Regions from separate parts of the Homo sapiens genome. Here all the other regions are linked to region 2. Evidence: promoter capture Hi-C in human tissues and cell types (Jung and others, 2019). All regions are on one chromosome and are shown on one strand. The core of a region is centred on a gene start or on the middle of the fragment in contact, and the rest is flanking DNA. Distances in the headings are between cores, read along the strand shown.

Evidence for each region. Contacts are between HindIII fragments. The study calls those that stand out against the background at their distance.
Region 1: a fragment that was not itself captured here is called in contact with the fragment with the promoter of LAMA3 in region 2 in 1 of the 25 tissues and cell types used here (lymphoblastoid cells).
Region 3: a fragment that was not itself captured here is called in contact with the fragment with the promoter of LAMA3 in region 2 in 2 of the 25 tissues and cell types used here (dorsolateral prefrontal cortex and spleen).

What each region holds. Positions count from the first base shown.
Region 1 is chr18:24,031,714-24,034,413 of GRCh38, forward strand. All of the region lies in intron 1 of TTC39C (tetratricopeptide repeat domain 39C), which reads left to right. Among named protein-coding and RNA genes, the nearest start is that of TTC39C-AS1, 18 kb to the left of the region's middle. RefSeq lists an enhancer at 2,101-2,150. The HindIII fragment of the contact is 6,682 bases long and covers 1-2,700 here.
Region 2 is chr18:23,688,033-23,690,732 of GRCh38, forward strand. LAMA3 (laminin subunit alpha 3) reads left to right here and starts at 1,421. Exons shown (of 75, transcript NM_198129.4): 1 at 1,421-1,945. The coding sequence starts at 1,652. RefSeq lists an enhancer at 780-1,329. The HindIII fragment of the contact is 10,376 bases long and covers 1-2,700 here.
Region 3 is chr18:23,950,984-23,953,683 of GRCh38, forward strand. LAMA3 (laminin subunit alpha 3) reads left to right here. Exons shown (of 75, transcript NM_198129.4): 73 at 701-794; 74 at 2,007-2,126. Among named protein-coding and RNA genes, the nearest start is that of LINC02958, 30 kb to the right of the region's middle. RefSeq lists an enhancer at 446-1,306. The HindIII fragment of the contact is 4,679 bases long and covers 1-2,700 here.

The sequences.
Region 1 (2,700 bases), core at 195-2,694, 340 kb after region 2:
TCTTCAACATTAATGTCTTGATTGCATGCCTCGCCACTAAAATCTCTTTTGCAGCCTCTGTGGTGGGTTCAAAAATGGTCCTCCAAAAGGTATCTACTTCCTAATCTCTAGAATCTCTCAGTGCTACCTTGTAAGGAAAAGAATAAAAGGTGCCTTGCAGATGTGATTAAGTTAAGGATCTTGAGATGGGGGATTATCCCGGATTATCTCGATGGGCCCTAAATGCAATCACATGTATCCTTATAAGAGGAAGGCAGAAAGAGATTTTACACACACGCAGAAGGTGGCGAAATGGAAACATCAAGAGACAAGATTTGAAGACATTGGCCTTGAAGATTAGAGCCACAGCTGCCCTAAGCCCGAATGCAGCCAGTCACCAGAGGATGGAAGAGGCATGGCAGGGACTCACCCCTAGAGCCTCCCCAGGGAGTGTGGCCCTGCCGATACCTCGATTTCAGCCCAGTGACACTGATGTCACACTTCTGGTCTAAAGAACTGTAAGAGAATACATTTCTCTTGTTTTCAGCCACCAGGTTTATGGTAATTTATTACAACAGCCACAGAAAACTAATTCAGCCTCCCATTGCTTTTAGGATTAGGACCAAAATCTGTGGCAGGATTTATCTGGCATAGCTTGGGCCTGCTTGGTTTGCCCCTTGACCGTCACTGCCTTATCTCATTTTTTTCATATGAAGATTGAGTATCCCTTATCCTAAATGCTTGGGACCGGAAATGTGTTGGATTTCAGATTTTTTCAGATTTTGGAATATTTGCTTATACATAATGAGATATTTTAGGAATGGGACCGAAGTCTAAACACAGAATTCATTTATGTTTCATATACATTTTATGCATAGAGCTTGAAGGTAATTTTGTACAATATTTTAAATAATTTTCTGCATGAAACAAAGTTTTGACTGCATTTTGACTGTGAACGTCACATGAGATCAGGTGTAGAATTTTTCACTTGTGGCAGCATGCCAGCCCTCAAAAAGTTTCAGATTTTGGAGCATTTTGGGTTTCAGATTTGTGGGTTAGGCTGCCCAACCTGTATTTTAAAATGATTTTGTTGTATGATTTCTAGGTTGTGGCTGTACAAATCCCAGTTAGCTCATGCTATAAAATAGACTCATATTTCCCCCTTTTATACAGGGGTTTGTAGAAAAACAGAAAAGTAAAATAGCTTTAAATTGGCAATGGCTTTCGTTTTAACCAGCTTTAGAATCCATATTAACCTTCATTGAAAAGATCAATGCTGGCTGGGTGCAGTGGCTCACACTTGTATTCCCAGCACGTTGGAAGGTGAAGTCGAGTGGATCACTTGAGACCAGGAGTTTGAGACCAGCCTGGCCAACATGGCGAGAGCCTGTCTCTGCTAAAAATACAAAAATTCGCTGGGCCTGGTGGCACATGCCTATAATCCCAGCTACTCGAGAGGCTGAGACATGAGAATCACTTGAAACTGGGGGGCGGCGGTTGCAGTGAGCTGAGATCATGCCACTGTACTCTAGCCTGGGCAACAGTGTGAGACTCTGTCTCAATAAATAAATAAATAAAATAAATAACCAGTGCTTTCTCCAATTATGCCATTTGGTAGCCTTGTCTTCCATTGCTGTGTTCTTTCCTTACTCTTTGACTTGTAGTTACCATGATCTTTCAGATTCTTGACTTTGCTTTGCTTCCTCCTGACACAGGGTTTTCATTGCACGTTGAATCTCTCCTCCAAGCTGACTCAATTTCTACTTATCCTTCAACCTCAACTCCACCTTCCCTTCCTGGAGAGGCTTTCTCTGGTCTTCCAGCCTCATTTGTTTGCTATGCATTCTGTAAGAATCCTCTGGGTTCTTACCTTAGTTTGTAATCATGCACAGACAGCCCTGGCCTTACTTGGTTCTAATATGCACAGATTCCAGTTTCCAGAGTTAAGTAACACCAGTTCCCCAATAACACAGTTCAATTTTCAGTTACTACTGTGTATGAGCTTTGAGTAATTGTAGCCACTAGCTTTTCAGGCCACAAATCATTATGTATGTAACATGATCAGTAGCCAATCGTGTGACTTCTTTCAGAGTCTGTCTGTGACTGGTCATTGCACCTCTGTTGTTCAGTTCACAGACAGCAAAGAGTGTCCTTGTGTTGCTTCCTTCATTCCTAGTGATAGACCCACTGACATTTTACTCAAAGGGATAATTGAAAGAGGACTTTGGCCAACAAAGATGAAAGTGCAGCAAAGAAAAAAGTGGTAACACTGGAACTGAAATTGGAATGATATCTAAATGGAAGGAATAGCTGACCTGGAATGTTGACACTGCCCCTATTTGAGGGACTGTGGATGTGCAGCCACAGGCAGTTAGTGAAGGGGAGTTTATTAAACATAAAGGAGGAAGGTTGTAAGAAAAAAGATGCAGATGTCCCAGAGGAGGTGACACTGGCCAAGAAAAACTTCCCATTCAAAGAACTCTTGGAAAGATCTCACAACATCGAAAGCACAAAGGCTACCCTGAAGCTAATCCAAACTTCATAAGGAGTGTCACAGTTCAAAGTACGACAGAGATGCGTACTTTACATCATACATTATCTTACAAGAAGAGGGCACGCCCTGCTCAAAATCCTCTTGATAAGTTTTCTTACAAAAAAGGAAATCCCTTTAATGCTCAATGTTTTAAATAAGAGTTTGTAAAATAAATGTTTTGCTAACTT
Region 2 (2,700 bases), core at 171-2,670:
ATGAGCCACCGTGCCCGGCCCAATTTATATTTTTCTTTTGTTGCTTGCGCTTTTGATATCATAGCTAAGACAGCATTGCTAATCCAAAGTCATGAAGATTTTCTCCTGTGTTTTTCCCTTAGAATTTTATAGTTTTAGCTTTATAGTTTAGCTCTCTAAATGTAAAATTTAGAGATCTTAAATCCATTTTGAGTTAATTTTTGCATATAGTATGAGGTGGGGATCCTACTAGATTATTTTGGGATGTCCAGTTTTCCCAGCAGCGTTTATTAAAAATATTATTCTTTTCCCATTGAATAGTCTTGGCACCCTGTTGAAAATCCAGTGACCATAAATGTAACGGTTTATTTCTGAGCTCTCAATTCTATTCCATTGATCTATGTTTATCGTTATGTCGGTACTACACTGTCTTGATTACTGTAGTTTTGTATTAAGTTTTAAAACTAGGAAGCGTGAGTCCACTGACTTCATTCTTTCTCAGAATCGTTTTGGATTTTCTAGGTCTCTTGCATTTCCACATGAATTTTAGGATCAGCTTGTCAATTTCTGAAAAAAAAAAAAGTCGGGATTTTGATCCCTATCAAAATCCATTGTGTTGAATTGTAGGTTGCTTTAGGAAATATTGCCATCTTCACAATATTGTCTCCTAATCCATGAACATGGGAGGCTTTTCCACTCATTTAGGTCTTTTAACATTTCTTTCAAAGAGGTTTTGCAATTTTTATTGTACAAATATTGCATTCCTCTAATTTCTTCGAGGGCCTATGTGGGTTCTGTTTTAGTAGGGTGTTCTGCATATAAGACCAAGCATCAGTCCGGGGTCGTGGGGGGAGGGGGTCTTCTCTGTTCTGAGGCCATCATGGCAGGTGGCGTACCTCACTCAATCTCTGTTAGCTTATTTGTAAAATTGAGCAGATTAGGCATCTAAAGGATTTCCTCTAAGGTTCCTTTCCAGGTTGGCAAATTACAACTTGCATTATTGGCTGTCTTTTAAATATGTACGTTCCACCACTCCCAGTTCCCTGGCTCAGCCTGTGGCTGCAGTGCCACAGGGATCCTAGGTGCACAGTGTTGAGGAGTTGACGACTCAACACTTGGCTGGGAAATCGAAATGTCTTTGATGTGAGTTCTGTAGGTAGTGGCAGTTTCCTCTGCTCTCAACCAAATTCGTTTACAAGCCTCCTTTACTCTTAGGTCACAGGTGGCTTTTCTGGCTTTGACCTGAGCGGTGAGTATCCAGAGAGGAGAACGATCTAATTAATTTCTGTCCTGGCGCCTGGAGGGTTCGAAGATCCCAGGCTCCCGTTCCCGCCGCCTGGGTGGGAGCCCGGGAACGCCTCTCCCATTCCCCGCCCGCGAAGTTTGCAGCGCGCCTCGCGCGGGAGAGACGCCGTCTGCTGGCGCGCGGCTGAGCGCTGTCAGTTCCTGATCCGGCTGGTGCCCGCTCCAGCCGCGGCAGGTTCCAGAGCTGAGAGGCCACCCCCACGCCGCGGGCTTCCAGCGCGTGGAGCAAGGGGAGCGGCCCCGGCGCCGCCCATATCCCCGGCTGCGCTAGTCCTGGCGCTGCAGGTCCGGGAGGCGCAGGCGGAGAGCGGCGGTGCCCCCGAGCCCCTCTGCGGACGGCTCAGGCGGGAGGACCCCGCGCGGCTGGATGGCGGCGGCCGCGCGGCCTCGGGGTCGGGCACTGGGGCCAGTACTGCCGCCGACGCCGCTGCTCCTGCTGGTACTGCGGGTGCTGCCAGCCTGCGGGGCGACCGCTCGGGATCCCGGGGCCGCGGCCGGGCTCAGCCTTCACCCGACTTACTTCAACCTGGCCGAGGCGGCGAGGATTTGGGCCACCGCCACCTGCGGGGAGAGGGGACCCGGCGAGGGGAGGCCCCAGCCCGAGCTCTACTGCAAGTTGGTCGGGGGCCCCACCGCCCCAGGCAGCGGCCACACCATCCAGGTGAGGGCCTCGGAGAGAGCCGGGGTGGGCGCGCCTTTTCCTTCCCGCGCCGGCCAGACACCCGGAGAAGGGATCGGGCCCTTTCCTCACGCGCGCTAGTGGCTCCGGGCGACTGGGAAGGGCAGCCCCCATCCCCGCGCGCGAGGGCCCACGACCCAGGAGCGATCTCGTGGAAGCACCGCACCGGCACCACCGGCCCGAGGCGAGGAGGGGGAGCACGCGAGGTGACATGAGGCTGTGGTCAGGTTCGGGCTGGTGGAGGGGAAAGTGTGAGGCTGCGCTCTAAGAGATGCAGGCGCCTCGGCCCTTCCCGCCTCCGTCACCCACGGAGCGTCCCGCCAGGCTTGAGTCCTCGAGGGTTCAGGGGCGCCTCCTGCCCCACCTCCCGGGCCTTATTCGGAGAAGTCGGTGGCAATTACCTTCTGTGGTGTATTTTAAGAGAGAATTTTTAGGTTATAACAGCGGTATCACTCTAATGTTACTGAAAAGATTCACTTCACTGCACTGCCTGAAGTGCCACCATCCAGTCATTGGGGGCGAATGAGACCTTAGGCGGACAGAGATAGAAAGGCTCTCAGAGATCCGAGCCTCACCGCGAACACCCGGGGCAAACGACATTGCGGTGCATGTTAAGCAGCATCTTGCAGTGCCTGGCCCTTACTCACAGGTCTCAGCCAGGCAAGAGTGCAGTGGTGCGATCACGGCTCACGGCAGCCTCGAACTCCTGGGCTCAAGGGATCCTCCCGCCTCAGCCT
Region 3 (2,700 bases), core at 59-2,558, 260 kb after region 2:
GCAGTGACATTGTTTAGCTCAAAAATTGCCTGTGAATAGGCTGTCCCATCTAGCTACATGCAAATTAAATGTAAATTATTTATAAACACACTTATTTTAGTCCTCTCATTTCATTCCCCTTGATTCAACTCTTGGAAGATCCTGGAGGAGACCCTGATTTAGAAAGCAGGAATGTGGGATTCTGCACAAAACAGACTGCGTGCCTGGCTCCCGATGCGTGCCCAGAGCAAACTCAATCATTTTGCTTGTTTAAAGTCTTGCCATGCATGGAACTATTACAGTTGGCTGGCCCTTGCAGCAGGCTGTAGGCCTCCACCAGTAGCTTTGCCTTCCACATCTCACATATCCTTCCATACAGAGCCACTGTCACGCATTAATTGCTAAGGAGGATTCCAATCAGTAACCTTTGAGTTGAGCTGATGGGGGCGGGGTTTGGATTAGAAGGGAACAACTCATTGCCATTGGCAACGACTTCAGGCCAGGGTCCACCCTGGTTTATAGTTGCCTGGAAGGGATGCAGCAGAGAGATCTCTGGAAGCATTGGACCCCATGTGGTCAAATGCTTCAAAAGCGGAGGAGGGCCAATATCTAATGTGCCCTTAAGCTGTCAGTTGGCCCGGTTTGGGGAGGGAAGATGGCAGGGGAAGGTCGGCTCCACCTGCCTTCCTGAAGGAAATAGGAAAATGCATGTGTGTTCCAGGTCACGGCCTCTATGGACAGTGGGGCAGGTGGGACCTCAACGTCGGTCACACCAAAGCAGTCTCTGTGTGATGGACAGTGGCACTCGGTGGCAGGTATGTTGTCCAGTAGCTGATTGTTCATGCACTAAAACAGGCCCCCTTTCCATTTTGACTTGAACATCCCAAAGGCAGCCTCAGCCCCTCCATCCACAGTGCCTGACCAGGGCCAGCCCCCGAGGCTAACGTGTCCATTCACAACCCCAGCCATGCTTCCGTCACTCATGGTTGCCACCTCCAGTTCTCCAGAACTTATCAAATATTTTATTGTTGCTGTTGTTGTTGTTTGTTTGTTTTTGGAGCCCAGCACACTAATAAGCTAGGCTAGTTTTCAAGATAGTATAACGTTGTGATTTAGATTTTGGCTCTGAAGTTAGAACAGAGGTCAAATCTTAGTTCCATCCCTTTCCCTGTGTGACCTTGGACAAGTTGCTTAATTGTTCTTTACCTTCGGTTTCCTCTTCTGTAAAATGGAAATAAAAATAGGGTATGGCTCTTAAGGTTGTGGAAATTAAATGGGACAATGTGTGAAAGGTTATTAGCCCAGTGTCTGATATGTAGTCAGTGTTCAGTAAGTATCTGTTTTTTGTTAAGGCTCATTGTTGTGTTATTTTTTTCAACAACCATTTAATATTAATGCTAACTATTTAGACAACCCGATGAGTAGAGAGCAAGCATTTCCTCTCAAAAAGAATCTGTTATTTTATTAATTATTTGTGGATATTAGAGATCTATGAACCCATATTGGCTAAAATACCTTTTGTAAAAAAGTGGCCTTTTCTTGGCTAATTTAAAAGATAACTACATTGCAATTAGCTGAGATCATTAACATGAGAGGAATTTTGTGTCGAGAGTCAAAAGAGCTGTCTTTGGCATCAGCTTTCAGAAGTCAGTGTCTTCATAGAAAGTAGCTGAGATCACATGAAATCAGCATGGCCTCTGGACACAGGAGACCAGAGCTTAAATCCCAACTCTTGGTAACCAAGCCATCTTGTCAGGCTCCTCAGTGAGACACATTCTCTTATCTGGGAAATGGGGAATGATAATTTCTTCTTCACAGATTCATTTTAAGGGTAAAATTCATTCATGTACGTGGAAGCACTACCTGGTGTTTAGAGGAAGTTAATTGAATTTATATCTAAGCTGACCAAATTTCTGCAAACAGCACTCCCACAGGTCTAGTATGAAGGAGTTAAAACAAAGTCAATGGTGTAGACATTAAGCAGGGCTCACCTCCGATGATAGACCTAACCAGCCTCCTTTCCCCAGTCACCATAAAACAACACATCCTGCACCTGGAACTGGACACAGACAGTAGCTACACAGCTGGACAGATCCCCTTCCCACCTGCCAGCACTCAAGAGCCACTACACCTTGGAGGTGCTCCAGGTAACTCTTGTCCTGACTTCTATAATGTGTTGCCCTGTGTCAGCTCTGAACATTCACTTCTTAATTAGTGGCAGGGCAGCTCTTGGCTGGACAGTGGAGATGGTGAGGCCCTTTGCACTGGCATGTGGGGAAAGGCAGTTGCTGGAAAGGAGCACTTGTCAGGTCAGCCCAGGCCCCATTACTGCTGTTGCCCCTTGCCCCAAGCCTGTAATTTTGTTTTTTTTTTTTGTTTTTTTTTTTGTTTTTTTTTGAGATGGAGTCTCACTCTGTTGCCCAGGCTGGAGAGCAGTGATGTGATCTCAGCTCACCACAACCTCTGCCTCCCAAGTTCAAGCTATTCTCCTGCCTCAGCCTCCCAAGTAGCTGGGACTACAGGCACATGCCACCACGCCTGGATAATTTTTGTGTTTTTAGTAGAGGCAGGGTTTTGCTATGTTGGCCAGGCTGGTCACAAACTCCTGACCTCAGGTGATCCACCCGCCTCAGCCTTTCAAAGTGCTGGGATTACAGGTGTGAGCCACTGCACCTGGCCCCAAGCCTATAATTTATAATCCTTTCTTAAGAGGTTGCATTA